Linked DNA regions of Homo sapiens: regions 1, 3 and 4 are each linked to region 2. The links are contacts of gene promoters, found by promoter capture Hi-C in blood cells and fetal thymus (Javierre and others, 2016). All regions are on one chromosome and are shown on one strand. The core of a region is centred on a gene start or on the middle of the fragment in contact, and the rest is flanking DNA. Distances in the headings are between cores, read along the strand shown. Region 1 has its middle 210 kb from the start of LINC02820. Region 2 holds the start of NTS (neurotensin). Region 3 has its middle 250 kb from the start of RASSF9. Region 4 has its middle 230 kb from the start of LINC02820.

Region 1 (2,712 bases), core at 168-2,667, 340 kb before region 2:
GTAACTAGTAGAATTGTACCTTCAAACTCATAGCTCTTTCTTCCCTGGCCACAGGGCCACCTCCCCTTAAATAAAGGTAGGGGCAAGTTCAGAGTCCTTCTCAGCCTACTCACAGTGCCTGCTAACTCGCTTGTTGCCGTCTGGGGCCCCAGGGGCTCCGAGTGGCATAGTGTGGAAGTCACTAAGCATGTTCTTCGGCCTTTTTCTATTTATTTTATTGTATCCTTTTTGAAATTTATTTCAGACCCATCCATGAAAGTCAGTCTCCTTCTTCAGGGAATGTCCTTTCAAAAGGCAAAGTTGGCCTCTACATAAAAAATAATAAATTCTAATATTAAAGACATTTAATGGAAATATTAGATGATATTTCCCTTAATGTTTCTTTATCATGATTGGTATGATTAATTCATGGTTTCTATTAATTTTGATTAGATATGTAACACTGGACTTAGTTCTTTATTCTTGCTATATGTTTTGAGTGAATAAAAATTCTTAGTGGCATGTAAGATGTCATACTTCATGTGCATATGATCATATAATGTAGAAACATATATGTATAAGCACAGTTAACTGTGAGCTCTATAGGGCAATAAGTATTTAAGAAAGCATTCTTTCTTAAATACTGTAGATAGATTTTCTGTGTTGAAATGTTGGAGAAAAGTTTTTCACCTCTCTGTGCTTACTTTCCTCATCTACAAAATAGAGACAACAGTACATACTTAAGAGAATTAATAGGCAGGTACAAATGAAATATCACATGTAACTCAGCACTTCACTGGAACAGAGTAAGGGTTCTATAAACGCTTGTTAGTAGTATTACAAACATAAAAAATATTATGTGTAATGAAGGCTACAGGATGAGAGGTCTTGTTTAAGAAAAGTTTCTGAAGAGGCAAACAGCTGAAACTGAAAACTGATGAATGATTATCTAATATGCAATAAGCTCTGAACTGTCTTTGACTGCCTGGCTGTTTTCACTTTCTATTCATGCTTAGACACACAGAGGTAATATTCTATCCTGGGTTGCACACAATAGAGAAGGGAAAGCAATGTAATACTGTTAAACTCTGAAGGCTGAGATTAAACAGGAGCATATTTTACTTCCTGGGAATAAGAAAAAGAAATTGTATTTTCTTTCACATTTCATATGGGAAATTGATTGCTTAAGTTTGACATTTCCTTTAATTGAAACACTTTGTTGAATTACTTCTAAGTCTCCATTAAAAGTGGTGTAAGTAGTATGAAATCACTCACTCTCTAGTATATCAGTGTTTGATATTTCATTACACCTAGTATTACCCTCATATTATCTTATTCTTCTTTCTCACGTCATTACCTTTGAAGAAAGATCAATTGACAATATATTGCTTTAAAATTATGTCATAGGCATATTGAGTCTAATGCTTAACACCCATGTCTAATATTTTGTTCAGTTGTTAAAAAAGTTGATCCCTTTATTTAATTGTCCATAAAGAAGATGGGAAGAGTTTGCTGTTCTCTGTGAAACAACAAATACCCTCTACCCATTCCGAGTGCCCCATACACACTTTATTTATAGTAACCAATGTGGTTGTTATTCAAGGCTTATTCCAATGCGTATGGGGATCTATACTCCTCTTTATGCCTAACTCTACCAAAGTTACCTGCAGTAACACTGGTAGTGAAAAACTCAGGAGCCTCCAAAAACACAACTGCATTTGGTAAGAGACCAGAGTAGCAACTTCCTAGGCCTGTCCACCCATCTCATAGCCTGCTGGAGAATGGTCTGGTGCTGTTGCCTCCGGACATTCACTCAACTCTTCTAGCCCTTCTCCTTCCTAGCTTGCCAGCCCAGCTACCACTTATTAGAAGGAAATAAGAGGATTTGGTGAACAAATAGTCAATAAAAATTGACTATTTCTGCAGATAGCAATGGGATCTGGGTTAGTGGATTAAGGGTATTTAATGGAATAACTTAATCTTTTTAATGTTCAAAATCCAGTTCTTACTGTTCTCTAACAACAACTGTGTTCAGTATTTTGGCTTTATATTTTGACTCAAGGCTTGCTTATAAAATATATATTACAAAATACATATATAAAGCAACACTGATAATACCCATTTTTTCAATAAATTATTGAATTTTTTAAATAGATACATTTTTTCATAGATAAATTGTGTCTCAAAATATATTAAGCCAGATCTTGTATCTTTGTTTAAAATGTTTCAATGCTTTATCTTCTCGGTCATAGTTAAAGCTAAAGCTGGTATGCCCACTATGCCCACTGCCCAATGTTGCTGTTTAACAAATAATCCCAAAGTTTAGTGGTCTAAAACAAAACAACTTCATATTCTTTGATATAGAAATCCAATCAGGGCACAGTAGGGATAATTTATTTCTGTTTCTCAATGTTTGGAGCCTTAGCTGGGAATACTTATATAGTTGTTGTCATCATGGATGTATGAAATTATTTAGAAAGATTTTAATCCACATTTCTAGTATCTGGGTTAGGTTGGGCTCAGCTTGCATTGTTGACCAGAGCCCCTACATATGGCCTGACCATGTAGCTTGTGCTCCCTGGAAACATGGTAACGAGTTTGTAAGAGGAAGTGTATCTAAAGGAATCATCTGGAAGTGAGCATACCAAAAAATCCAGGGACAAGCTGCATTTCTTTTATGACTTAGCTTTGGAAGAAATAGTGCATCATTTTCTTCACACTCTATTGGTCAAA
Region 2 (2,789 bases), core at 211-2,710:
ATAAATATATCAGTTATTATTAAATTTCTGGTATTATATGAAAGACTCCTTGCTATTCTAAGTAATTATTAAATGTTTGGATTTAATCGCTTTGCTTAAGTTTTGGGTAAAGGTGAAAAAGTTAAACTCATAGATTGTATAATATAAATCAATTATCTATAGGAACCAATCCTATTTTTTCTCAACTGTTACTACATGATTGATTTATTTAAAAATTAAACAAGACTCAGACAACTTTACATTCAAATATTCACATCTCTAACAGCACTGACTTGTCAAATTACCCCATGTATCTTGAAATGCTTACTACAAGAAGAAAGTTTTACTCTAAAAGGCATTTTGAACAATTTTCTTTTGAGAACTCAGACAAAGAATGGGTATCAGTGTAACTCATGAAATACATGAAGACTATCATAGAAAAGTGACTTTGGTGAATGGTGGTTATTTAGGATTGTCTCCTTTCCAAAAGTACAATCTCTTTTTTTATGGTGAAAAGAGTATTATAACAGGGAAAGAAAGCCGATGCAATAGTAAAAACTGTTGAGAAGGGAATTATACAAAGAGTGAGACATGGCATCAAGAATGAATTCAAAAAGAGCAGAAAAATATAGGCATAAAAAGAGATAATGTACAGAAAAAAAGTCAGTGATACAACAACACAAATTTTTACCTGCTAGAATGTAAGTAATTTAGAGCTGGATTTTATAAACATGAAATTGTTTTTCTAATACATTCAACCAAAAGTCAGCACACATAGTTCAGTCATCTCTCATTACTTACAATAAAATATTTTCTATTTGTTAGGAAATAATATCTTATTCCCTGGATCTATTATTTCTTTTTATTGATTTTCTTTCTATTCTCTAAACTTAATTGCTTAATTTTTATAACTGATTCTCTGTCTCTATTCCATCTTATTCCAGCATGGATTATTTAAAACCTGTATTAGTTTTGGAACCACTAAACATTTGCTCAGAAGTTTGAATTACCAGAGAAGCACCCTAACTCTTCAAGAACTTCCAAGCCTAAGGAATCACTGATTTCATGCATTCATCCTGGAGATTTTCCTTAAAAATTAGAAATAACAGATCTCATGTTTCACAAAATCAAAATGACAACTTTTGGAGTGGGGGAATGAGAAGTGGGAAAAGGATGATACTGGGGGTTCTTTGTCAGTATGCTGTATGTATGCTGTATGTCAGTGCAGTTGAATGACTCCTTCTGTGCGTCAGAAATCCAAAGCAGCAGCAGCAGCAATTAGGGAAGATCGTCACTTTCACTCAAGGTTCAGAAATGGGGGAGGAGAGCAGGGGGGACAAAGGAAAAGGGGAGGAGAAAGCAGGGCAAAGAGGGGAGGGATGGAGGTGAAGATAGGGCACATCCTGCAAAGATAATGTCTGTACAATCAATGACATCATCCTCCTGCTTATATATATAGGGGAATGGCCAGAGCACCTCTCATAGTTCACTCACTTTCAAAGCCAGCTGAAGGAAAGAGGAAGTGCTAGAGAGAGCCCCCTTCAGTGTGCTTCTGACTTTTACGGACTTGGCTTGTTAGAAGGCTGAAAGATGATGGCAGGAATGAAAATCCAGCTTGTATGCATGCTACTCCTGGCTTTCAGCTCCTGGAGTCTGTGCTCAGGTAAGCAAAACAGAATTTCACAACTCCCTGAAGTGATTTCTTTTTTCTCTTTTGCAGTGTGTTGCTACTTATGTTAATGTATCTGGGGAGAAGAGTTGCTCCCTTTTATTCAGGATTTACCTTTTAGTGACAGAAACTGAGTATCTCTTTCTCTGCCTTTATGATTACTGAGAGATGTATTTTCTCTTTTAAAATCTGCAAAGCAATAAAAGGGATTTCAATGAAACACTGCACGACCTCCTTTGGAATTCAACAACTAGAGGGAAAAAAACCCTACAAAACTTTCAATTAGGCTGATCATTATCTAATGAGAAATACAGAGGCAGTGGCTGTCAACCTGCAAACCCATCATTAAATCCCATTCCATTCAAAATGTTTTACTCTCATCCTCATTCATTCTCTTAGGAAGCGGTGGCCCTCACGCCCTTGTAATAGTCCCCGTATTATTTTCTTGTTTGTGTTAAGATAACAAATAAAGTGAAAATTGATACTTAGTGAAAAATGAAGCATTATTTGTAGAAAATTATTTCTAGAAAAATACAAAAATATTCCAGATCCTTTTTGAGAACAGAATTTGCATAGTCTAATAAGTGTGCTATTAATATAACTGTTTGGCATTTTTTCCATGCCATTTAAGTTAATACAAAATACAATTGGAAAATTGGTATTCTTATATTGATGGAAATTATTTGACTTTAGAGTGTTTTGCATGTGGTTTGAAAGAAGTTATATAGTCCTAAGTATCTACGAATAACTCACTTTGAAAATAAGACTTAAATTGAAAGGTATAACATGAAATATTACAACCATTGCAAAAGGCTCTACTTAATATTTAAGAAATATTACAATGAACACTTCAAAGGGAAAAGAACACATTAGGAAGCAAATGCAGCAAAAATAATTTAACCTGTTCTGTGCTTTTATGTATCATAAATATGACATGGAAATGTTTAACTCAAACTCATGCTATCATTTGATTTAAATTATGAAATTAAAATCTAAGAAGATATAAATGTGATTTATACAAAATTTTAAATTTATTTTAATCATCAGAACATAACTTTCAGCTTCTACTTTTTAAATCTTATGAGAAAAAACAAACTTTTCTATAATTATGATTTTATCTGAAAGTTATATGAGATTAAAG
Region 3 (2,700 bases), core at 171-2,670, 280 kb before region 2:
AACCCCAGATGTGCCTCTGTTAAGATCTAGAGCCTTTAAGGAGGTAATTAAGGTTAAAGGAGGTCATATAGGTGGGCCCCTAATCTGATAGAACAGAGATTCTTAGGAGAAGCAGAAGGAACACCAGAGATCTCTCTCTTCGGCACACACAAAGAGGAAAGGTAATGTGAAGGCACAGCAAGAAAGCTGCCACATAAAGGCCAGGAAGAGGGGGTCTTCCCAGAAACCAAATTTGTTGGCACCTTGATCTTGGACTTTTAGCCTTTAGAACTGTGAGAAAATAAATGTTTGTTTAAGCCACCTAGTCTAGAGCATTTTGTTATTGCAGCCCTAGCAGACTAATACACACATACCATTACATTTTATTTCACAAACACACTGGAAGTACAGCCCTTATTTTAAATTTACAAAATTTAGCATAGATATATATACTTAACTAAAACAAATAAGTACATAAAATAAGTTCATTATTTGCAAATTTTTAACATATTTTTAAGTTAAATGATTAGTTTCTTTGATGAATCTCTGGTTCTTGCTGCTATGGACATATTTTCTATTATATTATTTTAAAGTTTTATATATATATATATATAGCATACAAATATTTTCCCTCCTTTTGCCAATATCTTTGCAAAATTATTAAGGCAGAGCATCCAGGAGCAAGATAATTAAGGTTTATTAAGTATCTGCTATAACTGATAAATATTTTGCTTTAGAAATACAACAATTTATTACATACTAGGGAAATTATTACCTTTTACTCATTAGCAAAAAAATTTACGTATCTTTCTCATCTACCAATCAATCTAAAACTGACTCAGTATATGTCTGTGGATGATATATAATACAATTACCCATAGTAAGTGGGCCCTGATTCTACCTATTCCCTGTAGTGTTTACAATGGGCGTCTGAGTACATTGAATATACAACACATGATTTTCAAACTGAATTTAAAATCCTAATTAAGATAAATACTAATCAGGAGTAATTTCAACTTTGCATTATTTATCAGAATTGATAAGAAGAGACTCTTTGGGTAATGGTAATAATGATCCTCTCTCCAAAATAGGATTTTTAGTTACCAGGAAGATGGCTTTACAGATTGAAACAAATATTGCTATATCTGTTAATATTCTTTTTTTTTCAATCATTCAAAAAGTAGCTCTTTGAAAGTTGATGTCTGTTCATGTGTTTACATGTCTTATCTCAACTGTTATTTCCTTAGGGAAGCTTTTCCTAATTTATCACACTACATATATTTTCCTCTTTCATAGCCCAATACAATGTCATTTCTTTACAATACTCTGTGTGCTGATGCTTAATTTATTGTTTTAATTATTTGTTTACTTATAATCTCAATTGTGAAATACATGAGAGCTGGCACCATGTCTGTTCAGTGTGTATATATATACATATATATGTATATATATTGTATATATTGTTATACATATATACATGTATATATACAATGTATGTATATATTGATATACATATATATCAATATATCTAAATCTTATAGATCTACCTTCATCTATATCTATAGCTCTCTATGTGTATATACACACGTAATTTACTTCTAACTGTTATCCAAGGACTTTGACAAAGTGGAAAGCTTTGAATATTTGCATCTAGCCAAAAACATCCTTCAATAATGTAAACCACTAGTATCAGAACTGGTCAGAACCAGAACTTGAAAGGCTCTAAAACAGATAGCATTGAAAGACTAGATCCTAAGAGTCATCAGCATATATATAAATGGTAATTCAAATAATGCATGTATATGAGACCACCTAGGAAGAAAGAACAACGTAAAACAAAGCAACAGAGCATAGTTGTTAAAAACAAGGCCACTGCAATCAGAATATCTAGACTCAAATCCTGACTCTACCACCAACTAGTTATATAAAACTAGTGAAGTTGGGGTTAATTTGGGGCAAATGATTGTACATTGATCACAGAATACTTGCAAGGATTAAATGTAATAACTAAGAGTAAGCATTCTACATATATTGACTCTTATTAGACTGTAAGAAAAAACAAAAAACTAGCACTAATTCCTTAAGGACTCCAAAACTGAAAGACAGAGAAAAGTGGAGAAGTTTTTACCTCTTATACAGTGAGAGGTAAGAGGTAAAACTTGAATAAATGATGCTAAGGAAGACAAATAAGGAGAGTGAATCTAGAGGGTATGTCTCTTAGCTCTTTGATGTCTTTCCAAGATTTACCCTCCAACCTCGAACAACTAAATCCAGACAAACTATACAAAAACAAAAAAATGCCAGTTTTCAAGATACTGGAGATGAAACGAGAAAGGATAGTGATCCCTGTAAAGATGAAAAACAAATATAATAAGCCCTACCATGGTCCCCGCCTACTGTTTTCAAAAAGATTCCAGACCAGTGAAAGGATAGGGAAGTCAAATAGATACCTACAGATTCCCTGGGATGAGGAGACAGGGCAAGAGTCTGAGAAGATCAAGGTGGCTAGAATCACAGAACAGAGTAGCAAGGAAAAGAGAGCTGCACACAGAGAAAAGCCTAAAGATCTGCAGAGGCCTCCCTTGAATAGGGAGCAAAATATTCATCAGCATTTGCCAGTGAGAAAATTAGCAGAAGCTGGGGAATGATTCGCATCTTTTCTCATCAGCCAGACTGCGAAACCTCGTAAATCATGGAGCACTATAAAGAGTACTTAGAAAT
Region 4 (2,700 bases), core at 142-2,641, 320 kb before region 2:
CTAAGATAAAACCTACTGTTTAATATCATCTTGCTGCAGCGTGTTTGATCATGGTTAATAATCCCAGGAAATGTGAATTATTCTAATGGTTCTTGGGCTCATATGACATGTATTTTGAGTACCATACTCTCTCAGATTATAGTAAGTCTATAAATATAATAGATGTAATACATTATACATTATGGCACTTTCTATCCACAGCAGGTAAAAAATCTAGCCCTTGAGAGATTAGCAACATTTACCAAATAAGATAAAATAGCATTTATTTAACACTAAGTGTACAGGATGTTAAAGTTACTCTTGCTATAGATAAATGATGAAAAACTCTTTATGGATACAGAATACATGTTAATATTTAAACAATTGAGGAAGCTGTTTTCAGCTTGTACTCCAAGAAGGAAAAGTAGTTTTTTTCCACAAAAACAGCTTGAAAATATCCCTAGTCGTTGCGAAACTGCCTACAAATACAATGGAAAGGAAAATATAGACCCTTTACAAGGAAGCCCAAGCTTAGTTTAAAAAGAGAGACAGTAAGCCATCAGCAAATTTAGCCATTTTTGTTAATCAGCAAATCAGCAAATCAGCAAAACTGAGGCCTGATATTTTGCAGAGCCTGCTGGAGGAAGTCAACAACTCCCACAGAAATCAACTAATAAAAATTCAAAAACAAAGACTGCATGAGGTGAGCATTAAAACTTCCCATGTTTAGCAAAAAGAGTTCTGAAATAACAAATAGCATCCCAACCAGGTAGTTTAGAGCAAGGTAATGTGGTACTTTCTAAAGACAATCCATTTAATAAGAAAAATGCAAAGTGTACAAAAAGAATTACAACAGTTTTTCCTCTGATAGAAATGAGGTTGGCATTATAATCCCTCCATATATTATTGTACTTTATAGTCTGTCATATATATATGCTTTAATTTCAAAGTCAATTTTATTCACTTTCAAGAAACACTTTAGTCACCTTCATAAACCCCCACGTTTAAAAAAAAATTTAAAAAAAAGGCTCTAGATGTCAAAAACATACAGGCGCGTGGATGGATTGAATGACCACAGCCAAATTCTAAGATTTGAAGTTCCATTACTTGGAGTGGGTGTAGTTAGGCAAGCATCCCTTTCTTAGACAGTACCATGTCTCTGCCACTTAATTCTCTCCCATATGCTTACAAAAAACATTGTTACATAGTCAGGAGGAGAAGCTATAGAGCTTGGAACCATTAGTTTAGTTCTCTTTCTTCCACCATTGCTGCCTAAGTGCCTGTTCCAATTGTTAACAATATTTGTGAAAAATAAAATGTTGACATCCTTTGCCCCTAAAGCTATATGTCTATTTAACTAAGGTAGCTTTGTACTTTAACCCCAACTAGCTATCTTTAAACATTACATCATTAGTTACAACATAGGTTGAGTGAGAAATCATGAATGGACGTGAGCCATTCATGATCATTAAAGGAAAATCAACTCCAATACAGTCTATATTGCTCTTAGGCAATCTGTATCATGTTTGCGCCCAGAGTTGTGCATTACATTATATGATATCCTTTGCCAAGGACAATTGAAAGTCTTAAACATATAAAGGGTTATTGTACAAAGGATGCTGTTAAGCAGTCAGCCATCTGTATATGAGCTTAAATTTTAGCTGCTGGGATTTAGGATGCTCACGATCATTGCTGTTATTGACAGAACATTCCTGGAGTATGGATCAGCAGACAGGAGATGTTTGAGAACATACTAATGTGGGATTAGGAGCACTGGCACTGAAACAGGTTTCCAAGGGAAACTTGTAGATCTCCTTTCCTGGAACCTTTTGATCGACGCCTTACCATCTGGCATAGCTAAAATCTGTCCTGCCTGAAGCAGAACTGATGATCTAATGTCTAGAGGTCGCTTCCAAGCCTATGACAGAGAACTAAATTCAAGACAATACAAAGAACAAAGCATGGTGTCAAATAAATTGTTCATATTCTTCTTAAGTTCTCAATTCCCTGCAGCAACAGATGAATCTGAACAATAGTTATAGAAATAAAATAAATAATCTCACAATTAACTAGGGTGTACATTGCATTGTGACTATTATGTTTATCATTTAATCATAATTTAAGCTAGATATCACAAAAGGAGAAACAGACCTGGTAGTGAAAACCTTATTATACTGATTAGAATGTCTTTCTATGAGGTATTGTGGAATGATGGTGATGATTTTACAAGCTAAATTACTAGGTTTGAGGAGTTCCAGGCACGTGTAAGAGTAAGTGCACTAGACTTCCCTAATAAAGCTTTCTTTTTCTTGTATTTTAACACAAGGGTCTGGTTCTGCACTATCTTGGCCTCACGTTTCACACACTATAGAAACTTTTCACAGCAGCCCTATTAAAGAAGTGCTTAAACCCCAAGCTTTGTTTTCCCACTGCTTTTACCTTAAATTAGATCTTTCATTGTTTTCTTTCCTTTTGAATACATTCATCCAGTGATTATTTGATCACCTTGGAAGAACATTATACTGTCTGAAAGATATGTACCATGCTGACTTCACTTACGCCATATTGCACTCACTCTGCAAGCTCTTCAACAAGACATGCTATGAAATCACCTACTCTCTCTCACTGTTTCAAACAGACCTTTGCCACTGCAGATCAAGACTTTTAAAGTTCACTTCCTGACTTGCAGCAGCTCTTTGAATGTTTTCCAAGCTTGCAAGC

The links. Contacts are between HindIII fragments. The CHiCAGO score rates a contact against its expected background, and 5 or more counts as called.
Region 1: a contact is called between a fragment that was not itself captured here and the fragment with the promoter of NTS in region 2, in 2 of 17 cell types (erythroblasts and megakaryocytes). The highest score is 6.5, in erythroblasts.
Region 3: a fragment that was not itself captured here is called in contact with the fragment with the promoter of NTS in region 2 in 2 of 17 cell types (erythroblasts and megakaryocytes); the score reaches 6.6 in erythroblasts.
Region 4: a contact is called between a fragment that was not itself captured here and the fragment with the promoter of NTS in region 2, in 6 of 17 cell types (erythroblasts, M0 macrophages, megakaryocytes and 3 more). The highest score is 8.5, in erythroblasts.

What each region holds. Positions count from the first base shown.
Region 1 is chr12:85,530,575-85,533,286 of GRCh38, forward strand. No RefSeq gene overlaps it. Among named protein-coding and RNA genes, the nearest start is that of LINC02820, 210 kb to the left of the region's middle. RefSeq lists an enhancer at 1,041-1,100. The HindIII fragment of the contact is 3,569 bases long and covers 1-2,712 here.
Region 2 is chr12:85,872,835-85,875,623 of GRCh38, forward strand. NTS (neurotensin) reads left to right here and starts at 1,461. Exons shown (of 4, transcript NM_006183.5): 1 at 1,461-1,642. The coding sequence starts at 1,570. The HindIII fragment of the contact is 11,906 bases long and covers 1-2,789 here.
Region 3 is chr12:85,589,331-85,592,030 of GRCh38, forward strand. No RefSeq gene overlaps it. Among named protein-coding and RNA genes, the nearest start is that of RASSF9, 250 kb to the right of the region's middle. The HindIII fragment of the contact is 382 bases long and covers 1,230-1,611 here.
Region 4 is chr12:85,548,403-85,551,102 of GRCh38, forward strand. No RefSeq gene overlaps it. Among named protein-coding and RNA genes, the nearest start is that of LINC02820, 230 kb to the left of the region's middle. The HindIII fragment of the contact is 1,768 bases long and covers 508-2,275 here.